Linked DNA regions of Homo sapiens: regions 2 and 3 are each linked to region 1. The links are contacts of gene promoters, found by promoter capture Hi-C in blood cells and fetal thymus (Javierre and others, 2016). All regions are on one chromosome and are shown on one strand. Each heading gives the region's core, a stretch centred on a gene start or on the middle of the fragment in contact. The rest is flanking DNA. Distances are from core to core; before and after follow the strand shown.

Evidence for each region. Contacts are between HindIII fragments. The CHiCAGO score rates a contact against its expected background, and 5 or more counts as called.
Region 2: a contact is called between a fragment that was not itself captured here and the fragment with the promoter of EXOSC4 in region 1, in 1 of 17 cell types (erythroblasts). The highest score is 7.7, in erythroblasts.
Region 3: a fragment that was not itself captured here is called in contact with the fragment with the promoter of EXOSC4 in region 1 in 2 of 17 cell types (erythroblasts and endothelial precursors); the score reaches 7.4 in erythroblasts.

What each region holds. Positions count from the first base shown.
Region 1 is chr8:144,075,988-144,079,981 of GRCh38, reverse strand. It overlaps EXOSC4 (exosome component 4), which reads right to left and starts at 1,310. Exons shown (of 3, transcript NM_019037.3): 1 at 1,083-1,310; 2 at 1-39. The coding sequence starts at 1,253. MIR6847 (microRNA 6847) reads right to left here and starts at 108; the gene lies at 40-108. LOC124902038 (a long non-coding RNA gene) reads left to right here. Exons shown (of 2, transcript XR_007061141.1): 2 at 1-1,983. RefSeq lists enhancers at 1,239-1,538, 1,549-1,598. The HindIII fragment of the contact is 1,430 bases long and covers 660-2,089 here.
Region 2 is chr8:144,448,486-144,452,479 of GRCh38, reverse strand. It overlaps TMEM276-ZFTRAF1 (TMEM276-ZFTRAF1 readthrough), which reads left to right. Exons shown (of 5, transcript NM_001408018.1): 4 at 1-121; 5 at 1,710-2,898. The coding sequence ends at 2,101. ZFTRAF1 (zinc finger TRAF-type containing 1) reads left to right here. Exons shown (of 4, transcript NM_001330618.2): 3 at 1-121; 4 at 1,710-2,898. The coding sequence ends at 2,101. Among named protein-coding and RNA genes, the nearest start is that of TONSL, 6.0 kb to the right of the region's middle. The HindIII fragment of the contact is 1,444 bases long and covers 1,529-2,972 here.
Region 3 is chr8:144,383,602-144,387,595 of GRCh38, reverse strand. The region is part of intron 3 of ADCK5 (aarF domain containing kinase 5); the gene reads right to left. Among named protein-coding and RNA genes, the nearest start is that of MIR939, 8.6 kb to the left of the region's middle. The HindIII fragment of the contact is 2,664 bases long and covers 539-3,202 here.

The DNA of each region.
Region 1 (3,994 bases), core at 61-2,560:
GGCCCTGTCCGGCAGGGCTCGAGCCCGGGAGCCCCGGATCTGGAAGAGGACAGACACATGAGCCAGGCCCACTCCTTCCAGCTCACACTCCACTGTCCTCTGTGGGTCTGCCTCTCCCTCCACTTTCAATGCCTCAGCAAGGGGCAACTGCGTTACCTCCAAAACAAAGCCCCCTGTTTTGCGCTCTCTGTCTTGCATGTGTCGCCCTCTGGCACCTTTTAATTGGCTTCCTTGTGTCCATCCTTGCCCCATTCCCTGCCAACCCAAGTTTACAAACATCAACGCTGCTTCTGTCTCACCTACACACTCAAATCCTAACTACCTTACAAAGGTTTCACATTACATATGAAATAAGATCCCAAATCATTTCCCTACTCTACAAAACCCTAAGTCCTCACCTCCCCGGGAACCCTCAACCTGATTTGGAGTTATCCCCTCTTTCCCCACCAGCAGTCTTTCTGCTCTGCATAAGTGCCTTGCTTGTTTTCACCACCGTGGTCTTCGCCCTTCTGGTTCCCTCCGCCTGGAAAGCAGAGCTCCCACACTCATGCGCTAAGCAAACACTCTTTCAATACCTTCGCTGGCCAGGCAGTTACAGCGCTGGAAGCACAGTAATGAAACCAGATAGTTTTATGTAAAGTTCCTTTCTTTAGGAAGCTTATGTTCCAGCGAGGAAACAAAGGGGAAAATGCTTAAGCAAAATAGGCATTTGAGATTGTAGGTGCACAAAACAAAGGGTTTATTGTAGGGCGAGAAGTACCGCGTGGATAATAAGGTCGTCTGGGAAGGAGTGACGTCGGAGTAGAGCTGAAAGGAGAGGGAGCGAGTGGGGGAGTGCCTAGCACGTTGAAGAGCCGCAAAGAGGAAGGAGGGCGCAGGGACAGAGGCCGATGAGAAAGGCAGGACCACCGCGCAGCACACTAAGGACTTGCGTTTACTCCGAGTGAGATGCGGTGCTGAGCATCGGCTGTGTAGACTGAGGCGCGCCGGCCGTTGCCCCTCAAGTCCCCGAGCCAGCGCTCAGCCCGGCTGCCCCGCAGCTCCCACGGCCACACGATTCCCCATCCCGCGCGCCCACTCGCCTCGTGCGGGCCGTAGACCACAGCCAGTGCCTTGGTGTTGCCCTGCTCAATGTAGGCCGAGCCGTCAGCCTGCGCGAACACGCCCATCCGCGCCTGGATCTTGCGCAGCTCCCCGGCGCGCCGCCCGTCCACCCGGTAGCCCTGGTCCGACAAGAGCTCCAGCCCCGCCATGCTGCCCGGCCGCCAGGTCCGCTCTCTGCCTACTTCTCTGAGCCGCGGGAGAACTACAGCTCCCGGCGGCTCCGACCGCCCGGAATCTACGGTTTCCGGAGGTCCGCCATCACTTCCGGTTCCGGGGAACTACAGCTCTCCGCGGCCCTGACCTCCGTGGATCTGCGGTTTCCGGCGTTCCGCTGTCACTTCCTGTCCTGGTGAACTGGAGTTCACCGCGGCCCCGACCTCCCCGGATCTACGGTTTCCGGCGGTCCGGCTCTACTTCTGTCTCCGGGGAACTGCGGCGGCGCTATCGGGGAAGCAGCGGCTGGGCCCGCAGCCGTTCCCGGAGCTGTGCCACGGGTGCCAGGAGGTGGGCGCCCGCCGAAGGAGGAATTGCCCAGTCACGCCCTCGTGACCAGTGGTGCCTGCATTCAGCCCTTCCCCGCGCCCCAAGTGTGAAAGTGGAAGGATGAACCCAGTGGGGTGCGACACTGACAGGAGAAGGCATTGAGCGGTCCTAGGAAAGTGACCAGGCTGGTGTCCCAGGATGGTCCACACCTGGCACCTCTCCAGTCCTCTCATGCCCTCCCTTTACACCGAGCTTCCACACTGCAGTCAGGTGGGCCTCCCTTTTCCCTTTGAGGATGCAGATTTCCTCATCCTTTCCAGAGAGGGGTTGTATGTCTGTTTATCTCTTGCCACTTAACCTCAGCGGCTTCAAATAATAAAAATCATTCTATTATTATGTGCTGCAATCTGGGGTTATCTAGGCTCAGCTAGATAGTTTGCACTTAGGATCTCTCCTACAGTTGCTGCCAGATGGTAGCTGGGGCTGCAGCCATCCTAAAGCTTTCTCCCTCACATCTTTGGTGGCTGATGCTGGTGGCGGGCCAGGACCTCATCTGTGCCTGTCAGGCAGCACACCTACATGTGGCTTCTCCATGCAACCAGGGCTTCCTTGCAGTATGGCAACTGGGTTCCAAGGGTAGCCTTCCAGGACAACAAGGTGGACAACATGTGCATGGTATTTTTAGGACCTAACCTCAGAAGTCACATAGTGTCCCTCCTGCCACACTCTGTGGGTCAAGGCAGTCAGACAGATCTGCCCAGGCTTAAGGGATGAGGACAGGGACCCCACCCTTCAGTGGGAGGAGTGTCAATATTAGACTGTAGGAAGAGCAGGCGGGCTAGGGAAATGTGGTCTGCTGCAGGGGCCCAAGTTCAGTTGTCACAGCATCCCCTCCAAGGTGGTTAAGCTCTCCTGAAAGACTGAGGCATGAGAGTGAGTGAGCAAGCCACAACCCTGCTGCTGCAGCTGGTCTGAGGCCATGATGGGTCACCACCCTCTGCCACTTGCCACCCCGGATTCCCCACCCTCTGCTCTACAGCCACTCTGCTTATTGTGGAGCCCTTTTCCCCTTTCAGTCTGAGCTCTTACTGTCCCTGTTCTTACTGAGTCATCGTTTTTTTCGTTTGTTTCTTTGTTTTGTTTTGTTTTTTGAGATGGAGTCTTACTCTGCACCCAGGCTAGAGTGCCGTGGCACAATGTCAGCGCACTGCACCCTCCACCTCCAGGGTTCAAGTGATTCTTCTATCTCAGCCTCCCAAGTAGCTGGGAAGGTGGGATTACAGGCACCTGCCACTATGCCTGGCTAAGGTTTTTTTTTTTTTTTTGGAGATGGAGTCTCACTGTCACCCAGGCTGGAGTGCAGTGGCACAATCTCAGCTCACTGCAACCTCCACCTCCTGGGTTCAAACGATTCTCCTACCTCAGCCTCCCAGGTAGCTGGGATTACAGGCATGCACCACCATGCCCTGCTAACTTTTTTTTTGTAGTTTTAGTAGAGATGGGGTTTCACCATGTTGACCAGGCTGATCTTGAACTCCTGACCTCAGGTGATCCACCTGCCTCGGCCTCCCGCCACCACGCATGGCCATTACTGGGTTGTCCACTGACAGTCCTTGCCGCATGCGGGAAGACTAGACGCCCAGGGAGCTCTGTGGACTGCCCACCCCAGTTGTGTAGCATTGACCGTAGCAACTCAGGACAATGAGGACGATGTTGGTCTTCAGCCTAAGGTGTCCAAAGTGGGCCAGTGATAGCCGCTACTTCAAGATCAGTGGAACCTTTGCTGTGTTCCCTGGTGGAAGTATTCATCTTCAGGAACCAGGCCTCCAACCTGGCAGCATTACAGGTTTAGGATTATGGGGCCACTCCTACCTCACACCTTTGGTTCTCTGACCCTCGTACTCCAGCTTTAGGGTACACACATGGGTCGATTCAAATTTTGGAGGCCTAAAGCTTATACAAATTCAGGGGCCGTGAGAGGTATCCCCAAGACCCCTCCAGAGTAACCGATTTGCTAGAAGGACTCACTATAGACTTGTCTTCACGCCTAAGATTATTACACAGAGAGGATATAAGTCTGAATCAGCAAAGAGAAAAGGTGCATGGGATGAATTCCACAGGAAATCAGGCGTGAGCTGGCCACGTCCTCTCCTGGTGGACTCCACGGGAAGAAGCTGGAGCCGTGTGTGTGAAATGCTGTCTGCCAGGGAAGCTTCTTAGACACTCAGCGCCCTGGGGTTTTATGGAGGGCTGGTCACATACACAGTCTGTGCCAAGCATGTGCCCAAATTCCAGACCCCTAGAAGCAACACAGGTGTTCAGCATGAGCCATATTTGTACAAACAGTCTAGGCACAGTGAGACACGCTTACCAGAGAGTGGGGGAACCATGAAAAACCCAAGTTCCC
Region 2 (3,994 bases), core at 1,001-3,500, 370 kb before region 1:
ACCAAGACAGGCAGTGAGCTGATGGAGATCCTGGATGGGATGGACCAGAGCCACCGCAAGGAGATGCAGCTGTACAACAGCATCTTCAGCCTGCTCAGCTTCGAGAAGATTGGCTACACAGGTGAGGCGCCCCGCCGCCTGCTGCATGCCACACAGGTGTGGGTTGGGGGGCTGGCAGCCAGGAGTCTGGGGGCAGCAGGCTCTGGGCACTGGGCACTGACAGCGCCGGACAGCCGGGCTCTGGACAAGCTCCCGGTGGACAGGTGGACACCTCGGTCGAGAAGACAGGCCGGAGACTGAGTGGAAGGAGGGGCCGAGGCAGACCCCAGGTGCACACCTGTGTGGCTCTCACAGCAGCCCCGCCCACCTGTCCTCGCCACCCTGGCTTCACCATCCCTGCAAGGTGGCATCTCACTGTGGGGCTCCAGAGCCTCAAGACAGTCAGGGTCTAACCAGAAAGTGGGCAGGTCTCAGGGGGCCTGGGAGCTAGGGGCCTGCCCCTCGGACCCTGGGGCAAGAAGAGCACCCTGCCGAGTGAGGTCCTACCTGCAGGCAGTCACTGCCCCGGCCATGGGCCTCTCAAGGCTGGCACGAAGCCATTCAGGGAGAGGGCTCCACAACAAGCTGAGGGTGCCCGACTCAAACTGTAGAACCGGGAGTGGACACCCACAGACGCCCAGGCTGGATGCGTGCGCAGGCACACTGGATCTCGTGGCTCTCTGGGCCGCTGCCACCGCCTTTGAACGTGTCGGGGAGCAGGAGCCAGGCCAGAGCCTGGCCCAGAGGACAGCGAGAAGCACCTGTTGATGCTGGGGCCACTGGAGGAAGCTCCATCCCTCTACTCTCAGCCCACACCAGGCGGCCAGCTCAGAGCACCAGGCGTGGCGCAAGCAGGGTGGTCGTGGGCAGCCAGTCCCGCCCTGCTGCCTGGACTGTGCCCAGCGGGATGTGGGCCCGAGCAGGCCAGAGAGGCCGAGGGCCTGGGGTCTCTGCGGCAGCCACAGCCCGTGGTGAGTAGCAGCCTTAGCTGTCCTGGAGATACCGGGGCCTCGTGGAGTCTAGGCAGGCTGGGGCACTGTGGCTGTGGCCGTGGCCAGGTGAGAAGCCCCATTCGCGCAGGAAAGACTGGCCACCTGGGAACCCACGCCTCCACGGAGGGACTTGCCGGCCACAGGCTGTGGGCTGCCCAAGAGGACTGTGCAGGCAGGGCTGCCTGCTGATTGGCAGCTCCGGATCAGGCCCGGTGCCTGCAGACCTGGTGCTCCCCTCGGGCAGGGCTGGGTGCCGCAGCCGCCTGCTGGCTTTTCTGGCAGCTCCTCTGTATCAGAACCAATAAAGTGCACTTGTTCTCGGAACCGCATCCTGTCTGTGTGTCTGCTTACCCCGCCCTGGGGGACACCCGGGGCTCGGGGCGGTGAGGGAGGCCAGCGTGGGTCGGGCACGCCTGGGGTGTGGCCTGACACGTGCAGCCTCTGGACTCTCCAGCTAATCCATGTTGATTCTGTTTGTGGTTGTTCCCCTCAAAGCTTGTGTGCACCTCCATTTGCCATAGTTGCGTTTGGCTTGCTTGTGACAAGCAGAGCCCGGTGTCCGGGTAAGTTGCCTTCCTCCCCGGCTGAGCCTGCCCTCGGCCTGGTCAGGGAAGGCGTTGCTGCCCAGCCCTGCCCACACTAACAGCCGGCTCTTTCCGGCCCTGTCTGTCTCCACAGAGGTCCAGTTCCGGCCGTACCGCACAGACGACTTCATCACGCGCCTGTACTATGAGACGCCCAGGTTCACAGTGCTGAACCAGACGTGGGTCCTGAAGGCTCGAGTCAACGACTCGGAGCGTAACCCCAACCTGTCCTGCAAGCGTACGCTCTCCTTCCAGCTCCTCCTCAAGAGCAAGGTCACGGCACCGCTGGAGTGCTCCTTCCTGCTGCTCAAGGGCCCCTACGACGACGTGAGGATCAGCCCCGTCATCTACCACTTTGTCTTCACCAACGAGAGCAACGAGACGGACTACGTGCCACTGCCCATCATTGACTCCGTGGAGTGCAACAAGCTGCTGGCTGCCAAGAACATCAACCTGCGGCTCTTCCTGTTCCAGATACAGAAGTAGGGCGGGGCCTCAGGATGTCCGAGGAGCCCACGGGCGGCATCCCAGCACCGCTGCCCTGTCCACCTGGCTGGCAGCTGCTTCACAGGACTATCTGATCACTTTAGCAAAGGAGGAGAACAAACGAAGCCAACACAGGGCAAGTCTGCATGCGTGCGCGACGGGGCCCCCGCCTCCGGCTCACCCCCCCGACCCCTGCCTCCCCTCCTTCCGAGGGCCGCCAGAGGCTGGGCTGACCCGAAGAGGAGACGGTGCACCAGGCGCCCCGAGGCTCAGAGACGGTGGCAGCAAGGAGGCCGAGAGGCACAGCGACCCTGCCCCAGCCCTTCTGTGCAGTCAGGCGGCGGTGCTGCTCCATCCCTGCGGGTTCCGGCGGGGCGCGGGGGCCTTGCTGACATCAGACGGGATATCCGAATATCTGATAGCAATTAAAAGGCAGCCTTGTTTCGTACTTTCTGTTTTGTTCGAGGGGAAGGCATGGCTGTGAATGGACAGCGTGGGGGCTTTGGTTTGGCCTGGGGGTCAGAGCCTGCCCCGCCCCCATCTGTGTGCCCGCACACGTCCCCCGAGGAAAGACTCAGAGACACTGCCTCCCCCTACACTCTGTCATGGGGTCTTGAGACTGAGGCTTGGGCAGGAAGATCCAGGTAGGGTCGGGGCTGCCCTGGCCAACCGGCCGCTCCCAGGGAGACAGGACTCAGCCACCAGGGCTCAGCAGGCATTTTCCGAAAGCAGGGTGAAATTGTCTCTTCCCAGGAAAAAGATTAAACTCCTTGCAGGCTCTTGGATAAGTTACACAATTTTAGTGAGAAAGAGTCTATTTACTGTAGATTCAGCCTTGAGGGCCCAGCGTCCCCAGGCTGTGTGGAAAGCTTGGGTCAGTGCTTGGGCGCCTGGCTGGGTGAGAGTCTGAGGTGTGTCCCCCATGCTGCTCTCGGGGTCCTGCTGCTGGCCCTGCATTCAGGGCTCGCTGCAGAGGTCAGAGGTTGGGCAGCCCAGCTTCTCACCTGGAGGAGGTGGGCCCTTCCCATCCTCACCCTGGCCGCCCCCTGATGTGCCCCGTGGTGGCTGAGCAGGGCTGGCCTAACAGGATGGGAAGGAACCCTGCCTGGAGGGGTAATCCCTGGTCCTTTCTTCCCCTGGGACTCCCAGGGCTACTGGGAAGGATACAGCTTGACGCCCCCACCTTTGCTTAGGAGATGTGGCTCTTCCGTGATAGCTTTTTGTTGCTTCAATACCAAAGAACTGGTTTCCTCTGCTCCAGTCAGGTGCATTAACTTGCCTCACAGCAGCCCAACCCGCCCCCACTGGCTGCTGGGGCCTGGCCCACATTGTCCTGTGCTTTGCTGGTCACGGGTCGAGGGCTGAGAAATGGAGAGGAACTGGGGGCAGAATGTAAGCGCCATCATCCGGGCGGCTGACCATGGCACAGCCCAGCATGACCCTCCCAGTCAGCTCTTCCCTCCCGGGCCGCCGCACTGCCCCTCACGGGCTGAAACTTTCTGGAGCTGTTTCTGAGAATGCTGTGGGTTTCTACTCCCAGGCCAGGGCGTGTGGCCTGCTGGGAGTGCCTCGCTGCCGGAGCCTTATCTCCTGCAGAGCTGATGTGGCCTGGCCACCAAGGGCATGGGAAGGCCCCATGTTTGGTTTTCTGCTGACCACAAAGAAAGACCCCACCCAGCCCCCAGCACATCCTTGGGAGCAGCTGCCTCTGACTCTGGCACCACCAGGGTGAACTTGGGCACCTCAGGGCTGCGCTTTGGGGCTGTCCTCCCTCATGCTCCACCCACAGGCGCAGAGGGTTGGGCTATGGCTCTACATCTCTTTGGAAGCCCGACGCCCTCTAGCGTAGTGTTTCTGGGTCCAAGGTGATGGTGTGGGGCGCACGGGTGGGGC
Region 3 (3,994 bases), core at 621-3,120, 310 kb before region 1:
CCATCTCTACTAAAAATTAAAAAAAAATTAGCTGGGTGTGGTGGCAGGTGTCTGTAATCCCAGCTACTGGGGAGACTGGGGCTGGGAGAATTGCTTGAACCCAGGAGGCAGAGGCTGAAGTGAGCCAAGATGTTGCCACTGTACTCCAGCCTGAGTGACAGAGCAAGACTGTCTCAATAAATAAATAAAGAAACAAACAAACTGCTGGGTGGAGGAGCAGTGAGAACAGACACATCATCTCAACTGCCTCCATACGGCTAATTACAAGGGAATCAAATGGGGGAAACCGAAATCATGTGCCCCCGGCAGGACAGAAGCAGTGTCACTCCTGTGTGATTCCTGCCAAAACAGATGACGAATATGACCACAAGCAAACATCAGACAAACCCACACTGACAAAATAAGAAGCAGTGAAATATTTCTGTAAAAGATGAGATGGTAATTATTTTAGGCACTCTGGCCACGCATGAGCACATGGGCAACTGTGCACCAAGTGGTCACAGGCAATGCATGGGCATGGCTGTGTTCCAATAAAGCTTTATTTGCAAATCAGACAGCTGCCACACTAGGCCCCTGCACTTGGCCCAGGGACCACAGTTTGCTGACTCTTGTTATACAATACTTACAAGCCTGTAATCTTCAAAGGTGTCCAATCATGTGCAATGAAGAATTAACTTTACCCAAACAGAGGACTGACCTTTGTCCCTTCTTAAGTCCTTGGGATTTCCTGAGTGATAAGGAGTGCCTCTGTTTTCCATGGTGGCCCTGAGGGCTTATGCTAAGAAGGGACTCAGGGCGAAGACCCACCACTTTGGGGCCCACGGGGATGGGAGCGGGAGGACCGGGGCTGGAAACTGAATTCCTGGGATTTTCTGAGAAACTGGAGATTTTCAATCAATCCCGCCCAAGTATTAATACCCCAACAAAAACTCCAGGCATGGCCTGCGTGGTGGCTCATGCCTGTAATCCCAGCACTTTGGGAGTCCGAGGCGGGCAGATCACTTGAGGTCAGCAGTTCAAGACCAGCCTGGCCAACATGATGAAACCCTATTGCTACTGAAAATACAAAAATTAGCCGGGCGTGATGGTGGGCACCTGTAATTCCAGCTACTCAGAAGGCTAAGACAGGAGAATCGCTTGAACCCGGGAGATGGAGGTTGCAGTGAGCCGAGATCCCACCATTGCACTCCAGCCTGGGCAGCAAGAGCGAAACTCCATCTCAAAAAATAAAAAAAAATAAGTTAAATAAAAAATTAAAAAATTTTAAAAAAAAAGTTAAATTTAGTTCAGGTATGATAGCTCACACCTGTAATCCCAGCCATTTGGGAGGCTGAGGCAAACGGATCACCTGAACTCAGGAGTTCAAGACCAGCCTGGGCATCATGGCAAAACCCCATCTCTACTAAAAATATAAAAAATTAGCCGGGCATGGTGGCGCGCACACCTGTAGTCCCAGCTACTCGGGAGGCCGAAGCATGAGAATTGCTTGAACCTGGGATATGGAGGTTGCAGTGAGCTGAGACGAAGCCACTGCACTCCAGCCTGGGCAACAGAGTGAGACTGTCTCCAAAAAATAAAAGAAAAAGGGGCGGTGGGGGAAAGCAAAACACATAGGTGATTTTTTTTTTTTTTGAGACAGAGAGTCGCTCTGTCACCCAGGCTAGAGTGCAGTGGCGTGATCTTGGCTCACTGCAAGCTCCGCCTCCCGGGTTCACGCCATTCTCCTGCCTCAGCCTCCCAAGTAGCTGGGACTACAGGCAACCGCCACCAAGCCCGGCTAATTTTTTGTATTTTTTAGTAGAGACGGGGTTTCACCATGTTAGCCAGGATGGTCTCGATCTCCTGACCTCGTGATCCACCCACCTCGGCCTCCCAAAGTTCTGGGATTACAGGCGTGAGCCACCATGCCCGGCCACATATAGGTGATTTTATTTTTTATTTTTATTTTTTGAGACGGGTCTGGCTCTGTCTTCCAGGCTGGAGTGCAATGGCGTGATCTTGGTTCACTGCAACCTCCGCCTCCCAGGTTCAAGTGATTCCCCTGCCTCAGCCTCTCAAAGTAGCTGGGATTACAGGCGTGAGCCACCGCGCCTGGTGGTGATTTAAGTTTAGGGCCAGGTGTGGTGGCTCACACCTGTAATCCCAGCACTTTGAGAGGCCGAGCTGAGCAGTTCACCTGAGGTCAAGAGTTGGAGACCAGCCTGTCCAACATGACGAAACCCTGTCTCTACTAAAAATACAAAAACTAGCCGGGCGTGGTGCCACACACCCGAAATCCCAGCTGCTTGGGAGGCGAGACAGGAGAGTCGCTTAAACCAAGGGAGCACAGGTTGCAGTGAGCTGAGATCGCACCACTGCACTCCACCCTGGGTGACAGAGCAAGACTCCGTCTCAAAAAAAAAAAAAAAAGAAAATGTAAGGAGTGGCAGAGATTAAAGACAGGGCTCTGAGGCAGAGAAACATTGTCCCAAACCTTCCACCTTCCTGGGCAGCCCCTGATCATTTGGGTACCTGTGGCCTGTTCTGACCTCTGCTGCCTTTTCTCATGGTGCACTGGCACCGCCATGCTCCTCACCCGCGCTCCTTCCTGGGCCCCTGCATGGGTGCTGCTGTCACCCAGGATGTGTTCCCAGGCTACCCTGTGCCCTGCCAGGGAAGCTCCACAGGCCTGCTTGTCTATGCAACCGTGACGGCTTAGAGCCAAGGAGAACGTGCAGACTGCTGGGAAAATTAACAACAGAGGTCCCTCCCTGCAACCCCAGCTCAGCCCCTGAGAGCGAGCTGTGAGAAGATGTTTTCCCACAAAGTGAGCCCAAAACGCAGGCTCACCAAGCCGGTGGCCGAGGAGGTGGACACCAGACACAGCTGCATGCCATGAAATAGAGGGTGAGACAAACCCAGGCCTGCCAAGCCGACATTTCAGAACCAGGCTGCAGGGGACGGTGGCTGGCAGCCCTGTGTGGCCCTTGCATGCACTGCAGCGGAGGGTCACGAGAAAAAGGCAGAGGACCCGAGGCTCTGTCGTCACCCACCCCAGGCTGCGAGACTGGATGGCCCTGCAAGACAGACAATGCCACCCAAAATCTGCAGGCAGGGACAGCAGGAACTCCAAGCAAAACCAGATGCCAGGGAGACCCACGTGGGGAACGACTGTTTTGTCTTTTAGGCTGAAAATCCTCAGGTGCCCAGCTATCCACAAGCTTCCACTCACTGCTGGAGGAAATTTCTGTGAAACTTCTGGTGAAATCTCTGAAGGCACCAGAAGCCGAGGCACTTGCTGAGAAACTGACCTAGGCCTGGCAGATGCTCGGAGGCAGGCAGAACAGGACCACACCCTCCCTGCCTCCTTCCTGCCCTGACGCTCCATTCAAAAGGGCTTTGGGGGCTGGGCACGGTGACTCACGCCTGTCATCCCAGCACTTTGGGAGGCCGAGGCGGGTGGATCACGAGGTCAGGAGATCGAGACCATCCTGGCTAACACAGTGAAACCCCGTTTCTACTAAAAATACTAAATAAATAAATAAATAAATAAATAATTTAGCCAGGCATGGTGGTGGGCACCTGTAGTCCCGGCTACTCAGGAGGCTGAGGCAGGAGAATGGCGTGAACCAGGGAGGCGGGGCTTGAGTGAGCCGAGATTGCGCCACTGCACTCCAGCCTGGGTGACAGAGCGAGACTCTGTCTCAAAAAAAAAAAAAAAAAAAAAAAAGGGCTTTGGGCTAACAGGTTTCTCTCAAAGCCAAGAGCTGGTTCCACCAGGCTCAGGCTAGCAGGGCTTTGTGGCTGCAGGAATTCCGGGATCTGACAAAAGCAGGAATGCCCACCCAAGGGTTCCAACAGAAGGTGTCCTCACCCTCCCCCTGAGTTCTTCACTGTAAGGTAATGGAGGAAGAAAGGGCCCTGACAGCAATAACCCGATTTTGCCCATCTCCAGGGCAAGGGACAGAGGCAGCCTCCTCTCCCAGGCCCAAACCTTGGAATGGGGCAAGAAGAG